Linked DNA regions of Homo sapiens: region 2 is linked to region 1. The links are contacts of gene promoters, found by promoter capture Hi-C in human tissues and cell types (Jung and others, 2019). All regions are on one chromosome and are shown on one strand. The core of a region is centred on a gene start or on the middle of the fragment in contact, and the rest is flanking DNA. Distances in the headings are between cores, read along the strand shown. Region 1 holds the start of SMAD9 (SMAD family member 9). Region 2 overlaps LOC102723490 (a long non-coding RNA gene).

What was found. The method cuts DNA at HindIII sites, captures the fragments that hold promoters and counts their contacts. A contact is called where the count stands out against the background at its distance.
Region 2: a contact is called between a fragment that was not itself captured here and the fragment with the promoter of SMAD9 in region 1, in 2 of the 25 tissues and cell types used here (mesendoderm cells and spleen).

The regions. Positions count from the first base shown.
Region 1 is chr13:36,917,453-36,922,099 of GRCh38, forward strand. It overlaps SMAD9 (SMAD family member 9), which reads right to left and starts at 2,786. Exons shown (of 7, transcript NM_001127217.3): 1 at 2,664-2,786. RefSeq lists silencers at 2,697-2,766, 2,877-2,926. The HindIII fragment of the contact is 20,741 bases long and covers 1-4,647 here.
Region 2 is chr13:36,737,865-36,742,511 of GRCh38, forward strand. All of the region lies in intron 3 of LOC102723490 (a long non-coding RNA gene), which reads right to left. It also overlaps the pseudogene GAPDHP34 and the pseudogene TCEAL4P1. Among named protein-coding and RNA genes, the nearest start is that of SERTM1, 66 kb to the left of the region's middle. The HindIII fragment of the contact is 6,034 bases long and covers 1-4,647 here.

The DNA.
Region 1 (4,647 bases), core at 1,536-4,035:
GGAAATATAAATCCAACAGCCTAGAATTACAACTATTTGAGAAGATTCATGGTTTCAACGTACTGCTATATTTACTGTTTCATTCTGGACAGTTTCCCGTTTCTTTAACTCCTCTCTAAGTGTCCAAAACAATATACAGAAAGTCTGCACTAAGCTTCGTTAAAGCTTTAAAATTTAGCATAGTATGTCTGGCAAATCAGAAAAACCACATATTTGTCATAACCTTTACCTTCCCTAAAATCAGAGTACATCCTGTGGATAAGGATTATTTCCCACATATTAAAGCAGAACATGATGAAACTGCTGTCCTATTTATTACAGAGGGAATGTCAGATATAAAGTAGTTACCTTAATCCTACGGTGCTCACTTACGAAACACCATCCCTCCAGTTTGGCAATGCATAGTGCACTCTCATTAATCAGAATTAAACTATTTGGAAAACATATTGAGTATTTTCATATTGACATTGAATATTTTCATCTTTATGAAACAATTTCTGGACAGACTTTTTTCCCTCCAACTGACCACATGATTAGTAAAGATAGTGTACCACTTGTTTATTACTTATGGATATCTTTAGTAATGTTTCATTTAAAAAACAAAACAAAACTCTTCTTTCTCATCCATGTCTTGGGCAATCACAGATGCAAGAGTTGACATCTGTGAATATTTTCTGATTACTTACTAACTAGGAATATATAAGTTAAAAAAATTTTTTAAAGGAGAAAAGCCAAATAGTTCATGTTGACTTTGAAAGACTGATGACAATGATGTGGCAATTCTAAAGTACTTAGAGGTTTAACCCAAAATTTGTTTACGTCTTTGATTTTTAGTAAACACTGCACTGATAAACATGAGTTTGTTCAGATCAAGAGTATGTTGGCATTCTCTTAAGCATAGTTTGAAACCAGAGAGCTCAAGCATAAAACAGCTCTGACAAAGATAACCAGTCAAGCATAAAAATGGGAGTTGGTTGTGTCAGAATACATTAAGAGGCCGAAGGCTGTCTGGCAGACAGCTGTCTTGCCATCACTGAAGGTGACTATTACCACTAAAAGTTGTTTTTCGGATACAGTACTTGAAATTGCTGTCATCTTGTATTTAAAATGCTCCTTATTTATAAAGCGTCACATCCTTTTCTTATCTGAAGCCTCCTTCTTGGATAACCACAAACCTAAAAGCAGTCTAAAATTGTGCTGATGCTTTCCTACAAGCACAGGGAAACTCTTATATTGAATCTTTGTCTATTTGGAGTTGAGAATGTCTTTGGCTTTTATTTTAAATGCCTTCTTAAATATAGATCACTATTTTTAAAATGTAAACATCCAAAGGCATTCCCTCACACTTGGAGGAATGCTAAGGCAGGAGACATGCTTGTAGTAGTCACATTTCACTTTCCCAGACGGGTGCCACAAACGTTCCGCTCAGTTACTGCTTAGGAGGCAGCATTATTAAATGCCTCACGACTTAACGGTCAGCCTCCATGCTTCTTGCTAACCTACATTTCCAAAAGATCATCCGAGAAATCTGGCAAGCCACCGAAATGGTACTAGTAAACTGGATCCATCCAAAGCACTCCACAGTGCCCTGTGGGTGTGTTTCTCACTGTAAACTACTGGGTAAAGAATTTACATACAATTTTATCTCCAAACTCGATTTGTATCCTTTGTAGGTTAGTTCTCAGGAGTACCCACTCCAGCCCAGAAATAAGTCAACGTAGTATTTCCAAACTATCACTTCAAATGTCCACGGTCAAGGGCAGGAGGAGGAAGGAATAGTAACGGGAAAACTTGTCAGCGATTAGCCATCCATAAAAATGTTCTCCCAGCGCTCCTCCTTCCGATCACAAAGCTGGCGTCAGGCAGTCTCCTGTATCTGCTTCCCACCTCGCCCCCTCCCCTCTGCGGAGAGCTGGCACCGAGGGGCGGGCCAAGGAAAAGACAAACACCCCGGCTCCGACACAGTCCAAGCGCGAGCCCGGAGACACTTCAACAACATTCCTAACTTTTTTTCTCAGTTCGCATGCCTCAAAGGTAAACAAAGCAAAAAGCCTACGAAACAGAAGGCAAGTGAGGCCAATTCGGCGCTGGCGAGTTTAAAAGTGGCCCCCAAAGAGTCACAATGACGACCCCCGCCGCCCCCTCTGTCCGCTGTCCCCTATCTCCAGCTACAGCAAGCGACCCCTCAGGCGCCTATCCTGGTCCCTGCCCACGCCCCGGGCCCCAGCCCCGACCCGACCGCCGCCCCCGCCGCGGGTCGAACATCCCCTGACAGGTCCCGGGGCCCGCGGCGCGGGCGGATGCAGGCGCGAGGAAGGCGAGCTGCGCCGCGGCCAACTCCCCAGAGCAGTCCCCTCCGGCCCCGCGCCCACCCCACCCCACCCCACTCCACCCCAGACAGGCTCCACCAAAAAACCCGGGAACAACGACCGCCAAAAGCCAAGCCTCACGCCGAGGAGCCTCCCAGGCTGCCCCGAGGACGAACAACTTCGCCCTCCACTCAATGCGCTCACACGCACGCACACAAGCAGCGCGCGGCCGAGGAGGGCACGTCTTACCTGTCCCCGCCGTGCCACTCATCCCTCCCCCACCCAGGTCCGGCGCCCCCAACCCCGCCCCCGCCGTGGTCCCCCGGCCGCCCGCTCCGAGCGCCGCGCACTCACTGCCTGGCTGCGCGCGCCCAGCGCCTGCAGGGCCCGGCGGCGGCGGCGGGGACCGAGACAGCGGCTGCAGCAGCGGCGGCGGCGGCGGCGGCGGCGGCGGCCCCAGCCGGCGTCAGTCAGACTGGAGCCGCGAAGCCTCATCGCCCGTATTAGTGCGCCGACCTGGAAAGCGGCCAGGGAGCCCTGCTTGCGGCCCGCCCCCGCCCGCCGCCGCGCGCTCTGGCCGCTCCGGGAGCCGCAGAGGAGGGGGCTGCGCGGGCCCGGCGGGGGGCGGGAGCGAGACCGGCCCCACGGCCACGTGCGCGGAAACTCGCGGCGCGGGGGTGGCGGGGTAGTACTCCTCGCAGCGGCCTGCGGCTCGGTTCCCGCCTCTTCCCCACCCCCAGCCCCGCGCTGCCCTCTCGGTCCCCCTGCGCGACCCCAGGCTCGGCCCCTGCCCGGCCTGCCGGGGTGGCCCGGGGGTGGGGTGGGAGCCCTTTGTCTGCGTGGGTCGCCTCGCGTCTCTCTCTCCCACCCCACCTCTGAGATTTCTTGCCAGCACCTGGAGCCCGAAACCAGAAGAGTTGTCAGCCCAACAAGAATATAGGATCACCGGCCCATCAGTCTGGAGACCCTTCTGAGCTGCTGTTCCTCACATGTTTCTGGGCCCTGATAGTGACTCTCACTTGCCCTGTTTGTTCCTGATTTGCTTTTCGGAGTAAGGGGATCCTGTCCCCATGGACAGTGACAGAGCAACTGGGCCGCAATGGCATAGGCAGAAGAAAATCTAATCACTCTGGGGGTGAGTGGTGGTTAAAACGACTCATGTAATTATGTGGATTGTAATTTCCTTACACATATTTATTTGCTTAACAACCCAGCATGTGAGATATATTATCTAATCTAATAAAAGATACAAACTTATGGGCACACAGCAATGTTACTGTACAACTTTCTCGTCTCACGGCCTGGCTGTCCCCCAGGTAGCCTGCCTCTTAAAGTCACTGTGGACTCCTGGAACCCACTCAGAAACGCCACTTAGGAAGAACCACCTCTGATTCCCCATCAGCCCGTAGTTCCTCACAGAAAAGGCATTTGCTGCAGGGGTGAACGTGGAATAAAGCCACAGGGCAGTTTTCAGCTTGCTCCTGTGTGCAGGAAAGTCATACCTCCAGTTGGCCCCGATGGCGGCTCCGAAATGTAAAGCAAGGCCTTAAATTTAACTGCTTTTTCTAGTTCTCAAAGCACTGCACTTTCTTCATGGCAGATGCTATTTTTGCATTATTATACCGTTGTAGTTGAACGGTGATTTGTTTAAAACAACATTTGCAGCAGAACCTTAAATACCATGCCTTAACCTCAAAGTCTTCTTTCTACACTGGCCCAGATACCTCTGCACCCGGCTATGTGTTGGGTTTGAGATTGTCCTGGGTGAGAAACACCAGGAAACAGCGGGACCGGTAAGGGCTACAGATTATATATTAAGGATTAGGCTGGATGTGGACTTTATTGCCAGTAAACTAATTAGGTCCTCAGAATTGATACCTTGTGGCTCAAGTTTTTAAAAATTAAATTAAGAAAAGAAATGGCCCAATCACTATCTCAGTTTCCTTCTCGTATATGAGCATAATGCAGAGGACAAGATGCAGAGAAAGAAATTATAACCTCTGCAGCGCTGGCTCATGCTTCTGGCATGGAGTCTTTCTCAGTTCGCAGAATTCTCTTGACTCTTGGCAGGCCTTTGATTTAGAGTATGTCTAGTCTGCTCTTTTCTGTACGTTCTCATTTACATACCAGGATATTTCTGCACGATGATGACTTTTTCCTGCCTAAACATTAGTCTGTCACTGATATAATTCCTATCATGTATTCCTCAAGGCTAGTATAGAAAGTTAATCCATTACGCTCAAGAACAATAAGATCTGGTGAGTTCCAAGAAGGAGAAAATGCTTGGCCTAAGACAGAAGGCGCAGTGTTGACACTCCATTTTACAGAAGCTGACTGT
Region 2 (4,647 bases), core at 789-3,288, 180 kb before region 1:
TCTGTCTAGCTGAGATCTCAGTATATGTGTCCACCAAGTGGCCTCACGGGAAAAGCAGGAACCCTGAGGAATAGAAGTGGTGATATTTGTGCCTGAAAGCGTCTGCCTTTCACTGTGAATGAAGCATGAGGCAGTGTCATCTGCCGAGAGAAAGGAAATGTCATCAGGGAGGTTGGGGCTTAAGGAAGAGGGAAGAATCCCTGGGAAGAAAGCAAGAGGCTGTTCCCTGGAGAATCGCCAAAGGATAGCTTTGAGCATTTCACTGAGATTGGAGACCAAAAGTATGTGGTGACAACGACCTGTGATTTCCTCCAACAACATTCAGTACCTGCTTCAAGGGACAGAAAAGGCCAGTTTTACATTAACCATGGTCAGAACACAGCAGGGTGATACCACTGGCAGAAATGAAGGCCCAGGCAGGAGAACAGTTTGAGAGATGCTCCCTCGTTTCTAGCCAGGGATGGAATAGAAGGAAGCGAAGCAATGAGGGGAATGGGAGCTTGGGAACCAAAGGACTCGCTGGGCATGGTGGGTAAAAGCTGGAGAACCAAAAGGCTGTGGTCACAGGTTATTTTCATATTGACCTTTGCAACTTCAGAAATGAAGTTGTTCTTGGTGAGAATGAAGTTGAGGATGGATAGCTCATGTAGAATAGAAGTAAAAGTGAAACGTTAAGGAGACCAAGTTAAAGTCTGGATGGATTCTTCACCAGAATATTAATACTATCTATAATTATGGCAGGAGTTCTGGAAGCCAGGCCTTCTGTGAATTAGATGGCAAAATCTTCAATAAATGAAGGTTGATAGGATGGGGAGAGTGGGATAGTCACACAGCCATGAAACTCAAAAACATAGAAAAATGCAGGGAATTTTGCCCCTTAGTAAAGTTTAATTGGTTTATAGTTTGGTTCATTCTGTAAAGCAGCTTATCTATTTAATAACTCAGGAAGCATAAGCATGGTTGGTAAATATATCAAAACTATGTAAATTCAGAAATAAATACTTAGAAAAAGCTTACAGTTTTATTCTGTGGTTTTCTAATGAAAGGCAATTTACCAGCCATTATGCATTTCCTATCTCATTTGAAAATAACACAGACTGACATTTTACTAATTCATTATGACTGATCAAAATCATATTTTGTTTTATCTAAGGTTTGGATAGCATTTAAGTGTTGTACTGGGATGCTTGTTTAGAAGGATTATGCCCAAGATTAATTTTTTAAATGACTGGATGTGAACATGTTCTCTTTCTGCACCACTTCTCATTCAACTTAGAATGCAAAGTACAAATCTTATTGCAACCTAACAAAATTCCTTGAGAGTTAAGAGTCTGGTTTCAAAACTGAGAAAATGTCATACAGAGTGTTTTAAACTTAAAGCAAAAGGATAGTGTGTGAATTCAAAGCGATAACGGTAAATGCTAGACATTAGCAAGTCTTTACTTCCTCGTCAAATACATGAGGAAGTGTAATCTATAGAACCTCATTATCTCTAGTTTGTGAGAAAGGCCATGGAGGAAACTACCACCTCCATCATTTATACCCCTTTAAATTCTCAAAAGTATCTCTTGACTTACCTACATAATAATTAGGTTGCTATTGAGACATGTTTGTTCTCAACCAGGCGATGACCAGGGAGGATCAAGGCCGACAGCTATATTCCCAAGGTATAAAGCGCAGGAGGGATGCAGCAAAGAAAGCCCCTTGAATTTAAGTCAGGGCATTTCGGTTGGGGGTGGGCAGCTTTGGGGAGTAATGGGACCAGGAAGAAGGAAGGGTTGTAGGACAGAAGGGTTGGATGGTGACCTGGTTCTGGCTGGTGCTCTCAGGGTTTCCACAGGCCTATCCTAAAGTCAAGGATAGGCCCTTGACCATACCAGTCTTCCCAGGTGATAACATTATACTCCCATGCTTCAGCCACAAGCCCAACCCCACTCCTGCCCTTCTAGGCAAGTTTCCTTCTCATCCATTACATGCCAGGGATGTCACTCTCATGAATAATTTCACAGAATATATTAGTTGTGTCCTATGTATACTAAATGTAAAATGTCTCTTAGGCCTCAACCCCTTTCTATAAATTGGGACAATAACTCCCCACTGCACTTTCTGCTACTCTCCACTGGACAGACAGTTGCAGCTTTTTGTGCAGTGCCAGCCGCATTCATGTAACACCATTGTAAAGGTTGAAGTCAATAGATTTGGCAGTATTAGGTGTCTGGTTACAGGGCTCCTTTCAACACTGGCAAAATGAACATTATTGCCACCAATGATCCCTTCATTGTTTTCAACTACATGGTCCTCATGTTCCAAGTTGATTCCACTATGTCAAGTTCAATGGAATCTTTAAGGATAGGAATGGGACGCTCATCATCAGTGGGAAGCCCATTTCTATCTTCCAGGAAACAGGTCCCACCAACCTCCAATGGGGTGATGTTGGTATGGGGGCCCCTGGTGTCATCACTATCTTCAAGAAGATTGGGGTTCACTTAAAGGTGAAGTCACAAAAGTCCTCATCGCTGCTTCTTCTGCTGATTCCCCCATGTGTGCAAGGAGAGTGAACCATGAGAAACATAAGCATTCCCTCAAGACTATCAGCAACAACACCTGAACCACCAACTGTGCAGCCCTCCTCCCCAAGAACATCCATGGAACTCTCCCAGCAGGGAGGACCTCACTGTTATAAACAATGCCATCAGTGCCACTCACAGACTGTGGATGGTCCTTCTGGCAAACCATGGTGCAGTGGTCATCGTGCTGCCCAGAGCAGCATCCTCACCATCACTGGCACGGCCAAGACTGTCATGAATCTGACTTGCCACCTTGAGAACATTGCCAAGTACAATGACATCAAGAATGTGGTGAAGCAGGTGATGGGGGCTTCCGAAGAGCCTCCTGAGCAACATTGAAGACTAGATTGTCTCCCATGACTCTAATAGTGTAACGCTGTGGATGCAGGGCCTGGCTTCACCCTCAATGACCACTTTGTTAAGCTTTTTAGTATGAATTTGATTATAGTAATCAGGTCTCCCGAGGAGTAAGATAGCCTTGTTTCAAGGCTATTGAAACAAGTCCAATAGCCTTGAGGTACAAAGAGAGAGAGATTCCATCACTGGGAAGTCTTTGCCTTGCCTCCACCCCCCAATACACTGAGAAACTCCCATCCTCAACACAGTTTCCACTCCAAGCCCCTGAAAAACCCTACCTTGTCGTGTACCATCAGGACCATTAATACCATACTCTACACTCAGATGAGGGAAATCTACATGAGCTCCCCACTGAGAATCACTTCTGAGCTCTCTAGTATGGCCTATCCCTTCCTAGTTAATCTCAGGTCTTCTGTCCTCACCACTAACCACTTATCCAACCCAGCACCATATATATCAGCCATACTGGGCTATTTGCTGTATTTTATCAACTCTGCGTTGGTGACTACTGTTGCCCTTGTTCTAATGTTCTTTCTCTCATACTGGCAAGCCTGATAAATGATAGATAATCTTGAAAATGGGGTAGTGGAGAAAGGCCTTGATAATAAGAAGTTAGTAGCATGTAATTACCCACGGATAAGTAAATCACTGATGATTGTTGGTTGTGAAATAGCTAAACACATGATGCTACCTGAGAGACATGACCCAAATGTCACTTTTTCTCCAGTGTTTTCTCGGCCCTATTTCTCCACCTCCCCCAAAAATATCTTCCTGCCAAAATTAATTATTTCTTCCTCTACTTTCGTGAGAAAACCAAGGCCATCATTTATGAGTTCTTTCATTTTCCATTCTCATTTCTTTTTTTAATGGTTCTTCAAATTGTGTTTCTTAATTTTACAATGCACCATTTCTTCCATGCAATGGACGAAAATCTGATACTGAACCACAGAGCATTGCAGTTGTGCCCAACCATAGAGCATTGCAGTTGTGCCCAAAGGCTGTGGTAACAGAAGGGTGACTTAAAGCAAAGTATTGGCAGAAGGTTAAGCACAGGGCCTGGTAAATGCCTGTCAGGGGCAGATGCGTAAGAAGTGTCCTCAATTCCCCTTTGTAGGACCTCACAGCCATGCTGAGTTCTCTTGGGTTTTTCAGGTGGAAGGGGTTCTATAAACTTCTTTACACCGACATAAGGCCTACCCCCAATATTTGTCTGATTTTTTTCACCTCATCCTCCACCCTAGCCATCTCATCAAATTCTCTGATCATCTTCCCATTGCTCAAATGCATATCATGTATGGCCTTCTTATATTCCTTGAGGCATGAGCCAGCCCCCGGTTGGCTTTCTTTTGGCTTTCCTGGGTACAATGTCCTCAGTGGGGGGCTTCCCTGCAGCCTTTGTTTCCCCCTCTGACTCTCCTCCTTTTGGCTTTCCTTTGCTCTCTGGCTTCTCCTTATTCTTTAGCATTTTCCTCATCTTCCGCCTTTCTCTTGTTTTCTATCTTTCCATCATTTTCTAATTTTTCCTGGTTTTCCAGGGTACAAGCTGCTTCCAGGTTTCCTTCCTCCTGTGCTTGTTCTTCATTTTCCCTTTCCTTGGTTCACAGGCTTTCCTTCATTGTCATGGTAGAGTTTTTCCATGTTGAGGCTTCCTCTCTCTTTCCTTATCTGTGGGGATTGGGGACAGGTTCTGCCTTTCTGTCTAGCCTACCCATGTGTGGGAACA